Linked DNA regions of Homo sapiens: region 2 is linked to region 1. The links are contacts of gene promoters, found by promoter capture Hi-C in blood cells and fetal thymus (Javierre and others, 2016). All regions are on one chromosome and are shown on one strand. The core of a region is centred on a gene start or on the middle of the fragment in contact, and the rest is flanking DNA. Distances in the headings are between cores, read along the strand shown.

The links. Contacts are between HindIII fragments. The CHiCAGO score rates a contact against its expected background, and 5 or more counts as called.
Region 2: a contact is called between a fragment that was not itself captured here and the fragment with the promoter of GTF2A2 in region 1, in 1 of 17 cell types (erythroblasts). The highest score is 5.4, in erythroblasts.

The regions. Positions count from the first base shown.
Region 1 is chr15:59,656,160-59,662,072 of GRCh38, forward strand. GTF2A2 (general transcription factor IIA subunit 2) reads right to left here and starts at 1,356. Exons shown (of 5, transcript NM_004492.3): 1 at 1,247-1,356. BNIP2 (BCL2 interacting protein 2) reads right to left here. Exons shown (of 10, transcript NM_004330.4): 10 at 2,987-5,913. RefSeq lists an enhancer at 1,163-1,392. The HindIII fragment of the contact is 4,994 bases long and covers 361-5,354 here.
Region 2 is chr15:59,119,128-59,124,810 of GRCh38, forward strand. CCNB2 (cyclin B2) reads left to right here. Exons shown (of 9, transcript NM_004701.4): 8 at 4,390-4,500; 9 at 5,640-5,683. Among named protein-coding and RNA genes, the nearest start is that of CCNB2, 17 kb to the left of the region's middle. The HindIII fragment of the contact is 966 bases long and covers 3,566-4,531 here.

The DNA.
Region 1 (5,913 bases), core at 106-2,605:
CCTCCACCCCCAAAACTCTTGCTCATCCCTCTCCAGATACACTGGCTTCCTTGCTATTCCTCAAACATGACAGGCCTAAAAGCATTTGTATTGGCTTTCCTATCTGCCTGAATGCTCTTCCTGATATTTACTTAGCAAATTTTCTTAATTCCTTCAAGTCTTTGCTCAAATAACACCTACTAAATGAGGCTCAAACTGACCACCGTCATCTTTAAAATACCAGTTCCCACCTCCACTCTGGAACTTTCCCGTACTCCTTTATATTTCTCTTTTTTTTTTTGATGGCACCATCACTTTCTAACACCATTATATATTTTATTTTCTGCATCCTCTAATAGAATGTAAGCTCCATGAGGGCAAAGCTTTTTATTTTGTTCACTTAAGTAAAATAGGCGTCTAGAACAGTACCTGGCACACAATAGGAGCCAAAAAAAAATCTGTTCAGTAAACGAAGGCAAATATCAGTAAGTATAATATGCGTGTGGGAGGGGAGAGGGGGTTAAAAAGGGCAAGAAGTCCCAATAGGTAGATAAAAACTCCACAGAGTAGGAATACAGAATCGTGCATCGTGTCCCATTTGACAAATTTTTGAGTTTATCTAGAAAATAGCCCTGCGTTAAACGTTTGTTAAAAGTGCTGATTTCAATGTTCTTACATTCTTTAAAAATTCCTTGTTAAGTGTTCTAATCTTTTAGATGTGGTATCAGCCACAGAAATTTATTGTTCCCTTCTTGTTTTGCAGTTCAGAAAATTAGAAGTCAAATTCGGAAGTAACTCGTCCTAGCATTTTTTGATTAAACCACCAAGTTTAAAATTCGTTCCTTTTGTCGGAGTTCGCACGAAGAAAGTTGGAAGGCAGACTTCAAACAACAAGCTACAAAGCACAGGAATGAGACATTTAAAAAATGCTCTCCGAAATTCGGCAAAACTCACAGGGCGCTAGTGGATGCTTTAAGACATTCACCTGGCTGAAAATACGGTGGTGGGCTGAAGACCTCCCCTAGGTGGGTTCTGTGGGCGCCCCGTGAACGACGAGCCTCCCGCCACGGGACGCGACCATCACCGCCGCCTCGCCGCCCTTCTCCGGTGCCGGCCGCGGGGCCTTGCCGGCAACGGTCGGTAACGGGCAGATCCCAGGAGCGAAGGGCCCTCAGAGACTACCCCACCAACGCACTCCGACTCCGGGGGGGCGGCAGGGAGCGCGGCCCTGCTTCCCTCCCTAACCCTGCCCTCCCTAACCCACTACCTGTGGGGAAGGCGCTTCCCTCCGCGGAGCGGACAGAAGCCGCCACGAGCCCGGCAGGAGGTTCCTACTTCTCCGACCACCTCTCCAGCCGCCGCAGAAACCGCAGAACTGAGCTGACGACCCGGAAGTGCTCGCGGAACCTGGAAGTGACACCCCGCCCGAGGGACGGGAGGCCCCGCCCAGCCCTGCTCTCGCCCGCCACTCAAGCCTTGTCAGGGAAGGGCGTGGAGAGGGAAGGAGGGGCGTCGGGCTGGAGCTTGAAGCCTTAAAGTGGTGGACAGGCGCTCTGCTCGAGTAATTCACCAGGTTTACTAAATCGTTCCTAAGGGAATTATAATTTTTAGAGACTAATCTTCTCCATTGTTAGATGCACAATTTAAGAAATGTAGGGCATTCATATTTCATGCCGGAAGTGTGTTCAGGGTAACAGTGTTGAAGACCTTGCAGACGAATTCTGAAAAGATTATAGCAGGGGCCGGGCGCGGTGGCGCACGCCTTAATCCCAGCACTTTGGGAGGCTGAGGCGGGTCGATCACCGGAGGTCAGGAGTTCGCGACCAGCATAATATGGTGAAATCCTGTCTCTACTAAATACAAAAAATTAGGCAGGCGTGGTGGCGCATGCCTGTAATTCGAGCTACTTGGGAGGCTGAGACAGGAGAATGGCTTGTACCTGGGAGGCGGAGGTTGCAGTCAGCTGAGATCGCGCCATTGCACTCCAGCCTGGGAAACAAGAGCGAAACTCCGTCTCAAAAAAAAAAAAAAAAAAAAAAATTATAGCAGGGTAAGCAGGGTATCTTCTTTACCCCTCGAAACAGGGCTGCAGGCAAAGTTTTTAGTTTGTGACCAGTTCATGAAGAACTTTAATTTGGGAGAAGTTATATTTAAAATTTGCATCTAATATGCAAGATAAATACTTCACTATAAATTTCAAGTTTGCAAAATCACAAATTGTTTTAGGTGTCAGGGTGCATGGTACACTAACTGGCTTAAACCCAGCAGTCATGTGTAGAGCAGTTTATCCTACAAAATAGCTGAATAGTGATTAAAGAGTATGTGCAAAACAACAACAACAAAACCACAAAAAACACCAAGTGGTATCAGCTGGAACCTCTGAGCAGGTCTATGAACTAAACAAGTTCTTCTTATTTAAGCCATGTTTTCGGCCAGGGGCGGTGGCTCATGCCTGTAATCCCAGCACTTTGGGAGGCCGAGGTGAGCGAATCACCTGAGGTCAGGAATTCGAGACCAGCCTCAACGTGGAGAAACCCCGTCTCTACTAAAATACAAAAAAAATTTCGCTGGGCGTGTTGGTGCATGCCTGTAATCCCAGCTACTCGGGAGGCGGAGGCAGGAGAATTGCTTGAACCTGGGAGGCGGAGGTTGCGGTGAGCCAAGATGGCGCCATTGCACTCCAGCCTGGGCAACAAGAGCGAAACTGTCTCAAAAAAAAAAAAAAAAAAAAAAAGCCATGTTTTCATTTTAAGCCACTCATGGTTTCATCCTTGGATTCCCCATTAATTAAAAAAAAATCTCAACTATGAAACACAAAGTTTCATTATTGTTTTGATGTTAAAATAAAGCAGGCTGAACTCTCTAATCCCCAAAGAATAGAAGCACTTAGACTATAGAAAGGGAAACAAGTGTAAAGGTCTGAAATTATTTAAGAGGTTTATAGGATAATTCAAAGCAAAAATTTAGTAGCATAATGAAAGAAAAATGTGATAAAAAGACAAAGACGAACGTTCCAATTAATTTATTTAAATTCATTAATGTTGCAAAAAATATGATGTGCAACAAATCAAGACACAAGTTATATTCCTAACAGGTCAAAGAAAATATTACATCTCCTTAGTAAATCATGACCAACTCTGGTATTTCTTACAGGGACCACATTAATATCTTGCACACACAGACATCAGAACTGAATTTCTGACAGTACTCGGCTGGGCAACATCATCTTAAGAGTAGGAAAATATCACAGTACATTAATTTTGTCTAAATGACAGCAATGAACCTGTGGTAACAAAAGTATTTTTGGAATAGATATCAAAGTGTGTTAATGTCTTAACAAACTCTGAATTGTGTTCTGTGTGAATAGTGCTCCAAGGGCTGTGCAAGTCAGTGGCCCTGAACATCATCAATATTTACTAGCTAGGTTTACACAAATAAACAAGCAACTGTTAAACGGACATTAAACTTTACAAAGTCCACATACAAAAAGTGCAGTGTAGAAGCTGATGAATGTTATTTTCCAAGTTCCTCCTTAGCCAAACTGCATAAAAATTTCAAAATGCAAATATTTTAACTTCTTGTTAAACATGATTCTAAGACATCCTACAAGCCTAGTATCATTAATTTGAAAGCACGAAATGATTTTCATTTGGTGCTTACGTGCTTTATGTGAATTTTTCATAGCATTTTACTTAGTTCTCAAAACATAAATAGGTCTATTATAAATAGTTGCAACATACTGTTATATTCAAATTTTAGTGTCACTCCTTACTGTTAAACATGCCAGACTACTTTATTTTCAATTATCCTTTAGAACTTCAAAGGAAAGTTACATAACTGGGTCTCACCATTGATCTGATTCTAAGTTCATTCAGAATTTCAAGAAGGGCAGAGGGGGATGCTTGCCAGGTAATTCTTTTGTATTAGCTTAGAACATTTGAGTAGATAATACCCCACTTCCCTCACCAGTTGGCCTTCCCATTCAAGTCTAAGTTCTTGACTCTTTCTCGCAGCAACTCAAACTACACAATTCCTATGACCTATAACAAGACCAGACCTATTTTAACAGCAAAATAGGTCTAACTTGTGAGTACATACATTAATGCCTCTTTTTACTCTATCCCTCTCAGATTTGTGGTCCATTTCTCAAATGTCCATATAGGATTGGAGAAAAAACAGGCATGAAAACAAAATAGAATGGTGTAGCAATCTCTATTTTCAGCCTATCTCCTACTCCCATTTGCTTGAGCAAGTTTAACACTTCTCCACATATAACATGGAAAAAGGAAGGATGAACCTACCGTAACATCTCTACCAATCTCATCAGGAAACTGGCCTGTTCTATCTGATATGTCCTAATGCTAATTTATCACTTGAAGAAATATAAAAAGCCACTTCTGTATAAAACACATGTCCAAATTCCCTGAGCATTCACATAAACAGCCAAATAGAAATGTTATATAGTCTTTTTAAAAGGCCTCTATCAAAAAGCAGATCTCTTACCTTTTTAAATTCTGGAATTACGGTTAAAAAAATTCTAGCTACAGATATATGCTTGCCAATCAGCATATTTCAGTATTCAGTGCACTTACTAGTGATGTCCATTTTGGAAGACTAAATCAATGTTCAGCAACAGTGAAATATGAAAAAACAAAAAAACCAACCAAAAACCCTCAATCCTAAACTTTTAAGTGCTGTAACTGCTAACCTTCTCTGCTCGAACTTGCTTCTGTATGAAGAGACAAAGAAAGAGAAAATATGAATTCTTATCATGGGTATGTATTATCAACTTTTCCCCCTTCAATCCACAGTCTTTATTCACATACCTTGCGTATAGCCTGCAGGTTTTCCTGCTGCATACAAGAAATGTTACCATCAGCAGTCACATATGGTACTTCCCTTAAAAGGACACACATGGCCGGGCGTGGTGGCTCAAGCCTGTAATCCAAGCATTTGGGAGGCTGAGACAGGCAGATCATGAGGTCAGGAGTTCGAGACCAGCCTAGCATGGCGAAACCCCGTCTCTACTAAAAATACAAAAATTAGCCGGGCATTGTGGCGTGTGCCTGTAATCCCAGCTACTCAGGAGGCTGAGGCAGGAGAAATGCTTGAACCCGGGAGGCAGAGGTTGCAGTGAGCCAGGATTGCGCCACTGCACTCCAGAATGGGTGACAGAGTGAGTCTCTGTCTCCAAAAAAAAAAAAAAAAAAAGAGAGGGCACACATACAGTGGCATCTTAGGTAACAACTATGTCTTTATCTCTTTATAAAGGTTTGCTTTCTCTTACTTCCTACTTTTATCACTTTCCAATGCCTCTGCTAGACCCTACTTAGAATCATATTTCTTCATATCTCCCTCTGAGTTAAAGATTGTTAAGCTTAAATTGTGGGGTGAATAGAACGTCTTCCCTTGGTGCTTGCTTAGGAGTATGATCAAGCAGAACACAGAATCAAATTATTTCACATGAAAAACTTCTGACTAAAAAAGGGGCACTTAGAGCCTAGTGACAGAAGCATCAAATTAAGCCAGTTAAATTAGATCCATGATCCCAACAGAAAGATAAAAGTACAATCACATATACTTTCACCTTGGTCAGTAATGGGAAATTAAAATGGAATAATATGGGAAATGTTAACTTAGCTATAGATTAGAAACAACAGACTTAATAAATGCTCTTCCTCTAACCTACTATTATGATCTTAAATCTTATAAAACATTTATTGTGGGTACATCTCTATACCAGATTCCATTAAGGTGCAGGTTAAAGCAGGTATCCCTTTAGTTTACTGATTCACAGCACCTCATTTTCATTATATCCCAGGTGTTATCACTGTTGTCTCTGAATTTTAATGTTTAACAGAATAGTCTTCTACTTTTAAAAAAAATTCAGAAAAACATCACTTTTGCAACATGTATCTACAGTTAGGAGCAATG
Region 2 (5,683 bases), core at 2,799-5,298, 530 kb before region 1:
TTGACTTTTGAACAATGTAAATATTTTATGCAAACTTTAAATTGTAATTAAGTGGAAATAAACAATGTAACTACATGTGAAATTGGTAACAGAACACAGAGGAAAGAATTAATTTAAGTACTTGTTGCTTGAGCCCAGCCTGGGTAGCGTAGCAAGACCCCCATCTCTATAAAAAATTAAAAAATTAGCTGGGTATGGTGGCACACACCTGTAGTCCTAGTTACTCAGGAGGCTGAGGCAGGAGGATTGCTTGAGCCCAGGAGTTCAAGGCTGAAGTAGCTATGATCCTGCCAGTGCACTCCAACCTGGGCAACAGAGCAAAACCCTGTCTCCAAAAAAAAAAAAAAAAACAAATCTGTAACCTGAACACAGCATTCTGACTGTGCATCCTTAGTGGGATTTAAAGTATGACAAAATAAAGGACTAAAGTGGTAACATCAAGTTTACTTAGTAGGTTCATTGTTAATAGTAATCTGTTATTATAATTTTGGAACTAGTTTATGTGTATTGTAGGATAAAACAAATTTATTCATGTTATTAAGGACTAAAATTTTCAATATAGGAAGAGTTTTAAATTATTAATTCATTAATTTTTTCTTATACAGGGTCTTGCTTTGTCATCCAGGCTGGAGTGCAGTGCTGCTGTCACAGCTCACTGCAGCCTCAATTGCCTGGGCTCAAGTGATCCTCCCACTTCAGCCTCCCACGTAACTGGGACCCAGCCACACGCCATCATGCCTGGCTAATTTTAAAGTTTTTTTGTAGAGATTAGCTCTCCCTGTGTTGCCCAGGCTGGTCTCGAACTCCTAGGCTCAAGTGATCTTCTCGCCTTGGCCTCCCAAAGTGCTGGGATTACAGACGTGAGCCACTGTGCCTGGCCTAAGAGAGAAAATATTAACAATTAAAAACAAAAGGTTAGTCCTCACGTAGGAAATAGCAAAACAAAAACAAAGGAAAACCCCTATTATGTTTTGGAAATAACAGCAAATTCATAATAAAGGGTCTCAGAAACAGTGACAACTCAGTAGTAGTGAGCATATTTAGTGCCCACATCTTGGATACTAAATACCATTATCTACTGGCAACTAGGGCTGTTTAGTGAAATTGCTGATTTCAGGGCTATGGCAGGGGAAGTACAAGGTGAGCCTAGAACAATTTGTGCCAGATAGCACACAAATTCTCAAAGATCAATGAGGTCACATCAAAAGGACATAGGAGAGCTGGTCATGGTAGCATGTGCCTATAGTCCCAGATACTCAGGAGGCTGAGGCAGGATCCCTTGAGCCCAGGAGTTGGAGGCTGCATTGACCTATGATTGCACCACAATAAAATAGGAAGGAAGGGAAGGAGGGAGATAGGAACTGGCTTGAAAGGACTCTGGCTGACTGAATTAGAGCATTAAAAAGAATAATGACAGTAATAGATTATAGTGTATAAAAAAAAGGATTCCTGGGACCATAATGACATAAAAAATAAAAGAGGGGTTCATTTTTAAAAATCAGAATACCAGCTAATTAAAGTAGAATGATAGAGTTAGAAACCACTAATTTTCAACCTGTAATGTAATAATTTATTCAAGCAAGGTGCATCAATGAATGCAAAAATCATTAGATGGAATAATTTTGGGAAACAAGATTCACGTGGTCTCAATTTATCATCCCATAGATACTTATTAATTCTGTAACAAAACTGCACATCTATGATGAAGTGGTCTGGTGGTTTCCACCTTCACCCAGTGATTAAGCTCAGCATTACCACTGGCAGACGACCTGAGTTGCCATGCCGTGTTGTGCAGTAAGATGTATACATTATCACCTATTCATGCCCAAAATGTTTGACATGAATTAAATCTTGAGGAAATATGCAAATCCAGAATGTGAGACATTTTAAAAGGAACTGCCTCGATGCTTAAAAAAAAAAAGTCACTGGTGACAGTGTTTCTTATGTGAGAATGGTGTTATGGATAGGTACGAAAACGTACTTTTTAGAATATGCTTCTGAAACATTTAGCAGGGATGTGCTGTGATATCTGCAAATCGCTTTCAAATGGCATAGCAAAAATTGTGTGTGAGTATACACAGAGAGGGAGAGGAGGGAAACGTGGCACATGTTCATGATTGATCAGTCTACATGAAGGATATATAGAGGATCATTCTTTCAGTTTTTCTGTAGATTTGGAATTTTTTGAAATAAATAAAACATTTGAGGCAAAAATGTCACTGGTACATGGTACCAATGGCTCATTTTTAGTCACCTTACTCTTAAATGTGCTTCGCTCTCCCAGTTTTCTGAGAATTTATTTCAAAAGGCTAGAAATTGTGCATTATTTCAGTTTTTACTCGTTTCCTCTTTCTTCCCTTCAAAGTATTTTAGGATTAAATTGTGTAGACTGGGCACAGTGGCTCACACCTGTAGTTTCAGCAGTTTTGGAGGCTGAGGCAGACAGATTGCTTGAGCCCAGCAGTTTGAGACCAGCTGGGCAACATGGCGAAACCTCGCCTCCACAAAAAAACAGAGAAACTGGCTGGGCGCAGTGGCTCATGCCTGTAGTCCCAGCACTTTGGGAGGCTGAGGCGGGTGGATCACTTGAGGCCAGGAGTTTGAGACCAGCCTAGCCAACATGGTAAAACTCTGTCTCTATTAAAAATACAAAAATTAGCTGGGCGTGGTGGCACATGCCTGTAGTCTCAGCTACCCAGGAGGCTGAGACACGAGAATTGCCTAAACCCGGAAGGTAGACGTTGCAGTGAGCAGACATTGCACCACTGCACTCCAGCCTGGGCGACAGAATGAGACTCTGTCTCAAAAAAAAAAAAAAAAAAAAAAAAAAAAAAGGAGAAATTACCCAGGCATGGTGGCATACACCTATAGTTTCAGCTACTAGGGAGGTTGAGGTGGGAGGATCACTTGAGCCCAGGATGTCACGGCTGCAGTGAGCTTTGATAGTGCCACTGCACTCCAGCCTGGGCAACAGAGTTGAGACCCGGTCTTCAAAGAAAAAAAGAGATTAAATTGTGGTTTATTTTGCCAATTATACCATGCATATGAAAAAAACGTACTTTCGCTTTTAGAATTTTTGTCACAGAACTCTTAAATAAAGTCAGTTGACATATCTTTTTTTTTTTTTTTTTTTTTTTTTGAGACAGAGTCTTTCTCTGTCACCCAGACTGGAGTGCAGTGGTGCGATCTCAGCTCACTGCAGCCTCTGCCTCCCGGGTTCCAGCGATTCTCCTGCCTCAGGCGCACACCACCATGCCCGGGGAATTTATGTATTTTTAGTAGAGATGGGGTTTCACCATGTTGGTCAGGCTGGTCTCGAACTCCTGACCTCAGGTGATCCGCCCACCTCGGCCTCCCAAAGTGTTGGGATTACAGGCGTGAGCCACTGCGCCTGGCCTTTTTTTTTTTTCTTTTTTTTTCTTTTTTTTTTGAGACAGGGTCTCACTGTGTTGCCCAGGCTGGAGTGCAATGGCGTTAATATCGCTCATTACCTCAAACTTCTGGGCTCAAGCAATCCTTCCTCCTCAGCTCCTCAAGTAACTGGGACTATAGGTGTACACCACCAAGCTTGGCTAATTTTTCATTTTTCATAGAGATAGGGTCTCCCAATGTTACCCAAGCTGGTCTGAAACTCTTAAGCTCAAGCGATCTTCTTGCCTTGGCCTCCGAAAGTGCTGGGATTATAGGCGTGAGCCACTGTGCCCCGCCAATTTATATATCTTCTTACATGATACATCTTATTATCAATTGACAGCTGTTCTTTTACTTGAATTTTACTCTTTGGGAGGCTAGGTCACAAGGCTTGGTGTGGTAGTGTCTAAGTTCTCTCTGCTGTTTGGTGCTTAACTACACAGGGTTCAACAAGAGAATCATAGGTAGTCCTAGTTCTTCTGGATTTGATAGATTGTTGCTTGTAGCACAGTTTATTTCTTATTTCCGAACATCTTTCCCTGACTGACAGTATGTCTGTTTGGGCTCTTGAGCTCATAACAGGGACAGCTGGGCAGGGCTTTGATGCAGGGTTGTGTGAGATGTGGCCAGCACTGTAAAGGGGCACTTTGTTTTAAGTGTCTCCTTTTCCATCCCCTTTCAGTGTTGTTACTTGAAGGACTCTTACCTGTGCAACGTCTTTGAAAGATCGTATGGGACCTTTGGCACTTGATTTAGTCTGGTCTCAGGGCCAGAATCATCTTGCATTTACCAGCTGCTTTAGTGTTGCTGGTACTGTGAGAGTGGTTAGGGCTTTGATTGAATTTCCAGAAGGTAAGAATATTCTTGTACAGCTTTTACATAAGTAATGTCATCATGTACAAGATGTGTTCTTCTAAAGAAGCAGAGGTTTTCTCTTGCCCCTCAGTCATGTCTGTCTGTCTGCTTCTTGTGTTTCAGAACTTAAAGCAGCAGTATTACACAGGATACACAGAGAATGAAGTATTGGAAGTCATGCAGCACATGGCCAAGAATGTGGTGAAAGTAAATGAAAACTTAACTAAATTCATCGTAAGTACTACTGTTTTCTTAAGCTGTGGAAAGCTTTAGGTTCTGGGTTTTGTGTGTATGTTGGGCGGGGGGGGGCGGTGTGTGCCGTCATGTAAATATATTAATAACATGTGGGAGTTTTAGCACAAATCCTTTATCCTTTATATTTTTCTGGTACAGTATGGTATGGAGCATACTGATAAACCCTGAAAGCAAGCTTTATTTGAAACAAGGTCGATAGGCTAGCCATGTCCAGGCCCAGATCCCAGTCAACCAGTCGGTTACTCAATGTATTGAATTACTCTGTGCTTATACTAGCATCCTGGGGAGGGCACTTTGCAAGCAGGGAAGGCTGGTCTGCATGTGATTGGGAAGAGAGAGGGCCCACTTCAAATGGCGGTGTATTATATTGCGTATTCAGGTGATGTTACTCAGAGCCTTTGTCCAGGGTCTTTTGAGGCAATGATGGAAAAACGCCTAATTAGCAAGCATGGTTAAGAGGGAAGAGGCCCATTCAGGGGGCATCCTGAGGGCATGGTGTCTATCTCTGCATGGCCCACCTATGAGGAGGAGCCAAAGGAGACTTAGTGCTGTCCTGTGCTTGTGTGACACCAAACATCAGAGCTCACCAAGTGTGTGGTGGCAAAGAGCAAGGTATTTGAACCTCAGAAGAGTCTCAAGTGTCCTCACAACATGATTTGCTTCATGGAAGTGTAATATGTGTTCAGTCCTGAGAGGACTGTCTGGGATTTGTTAAGCACTAGTTGCCACCCTCTTTTATTGTCTTTTATTGTCTTTTAATTGTTCCTATTGCTGCCAGGCCTGGTGAACCTGTTATGTCCTGATGGCACTTAGGTGTCGTAAACACAGCTCCCCCTCCCATCCCTCTGGTAGCCTACAAGAGGAAGCCTGCTACTTGGACCTTGAAATCATTTGTTCCTATCACCTGTGCTACCAGCTGTGTTTTATTCATTAATGGGGATGGAAGGAAATGGTCAGGCACATGTTATGAGCCCAGAGCTTTCACTGGCTTCAGCGATTGGGCATCATCAATGTGATCATGATTGTAGCCGTGGACCTTTGATAATTGTGAGTTAGACTAGGAATAAGGTATCATTGGGGGTTCCTGACATGTGCTTAATCACAAATGACTTCTGCAGGCCATCAAGAATAAGTATGCAAGCAGCAAACTCCTGAAGATCAG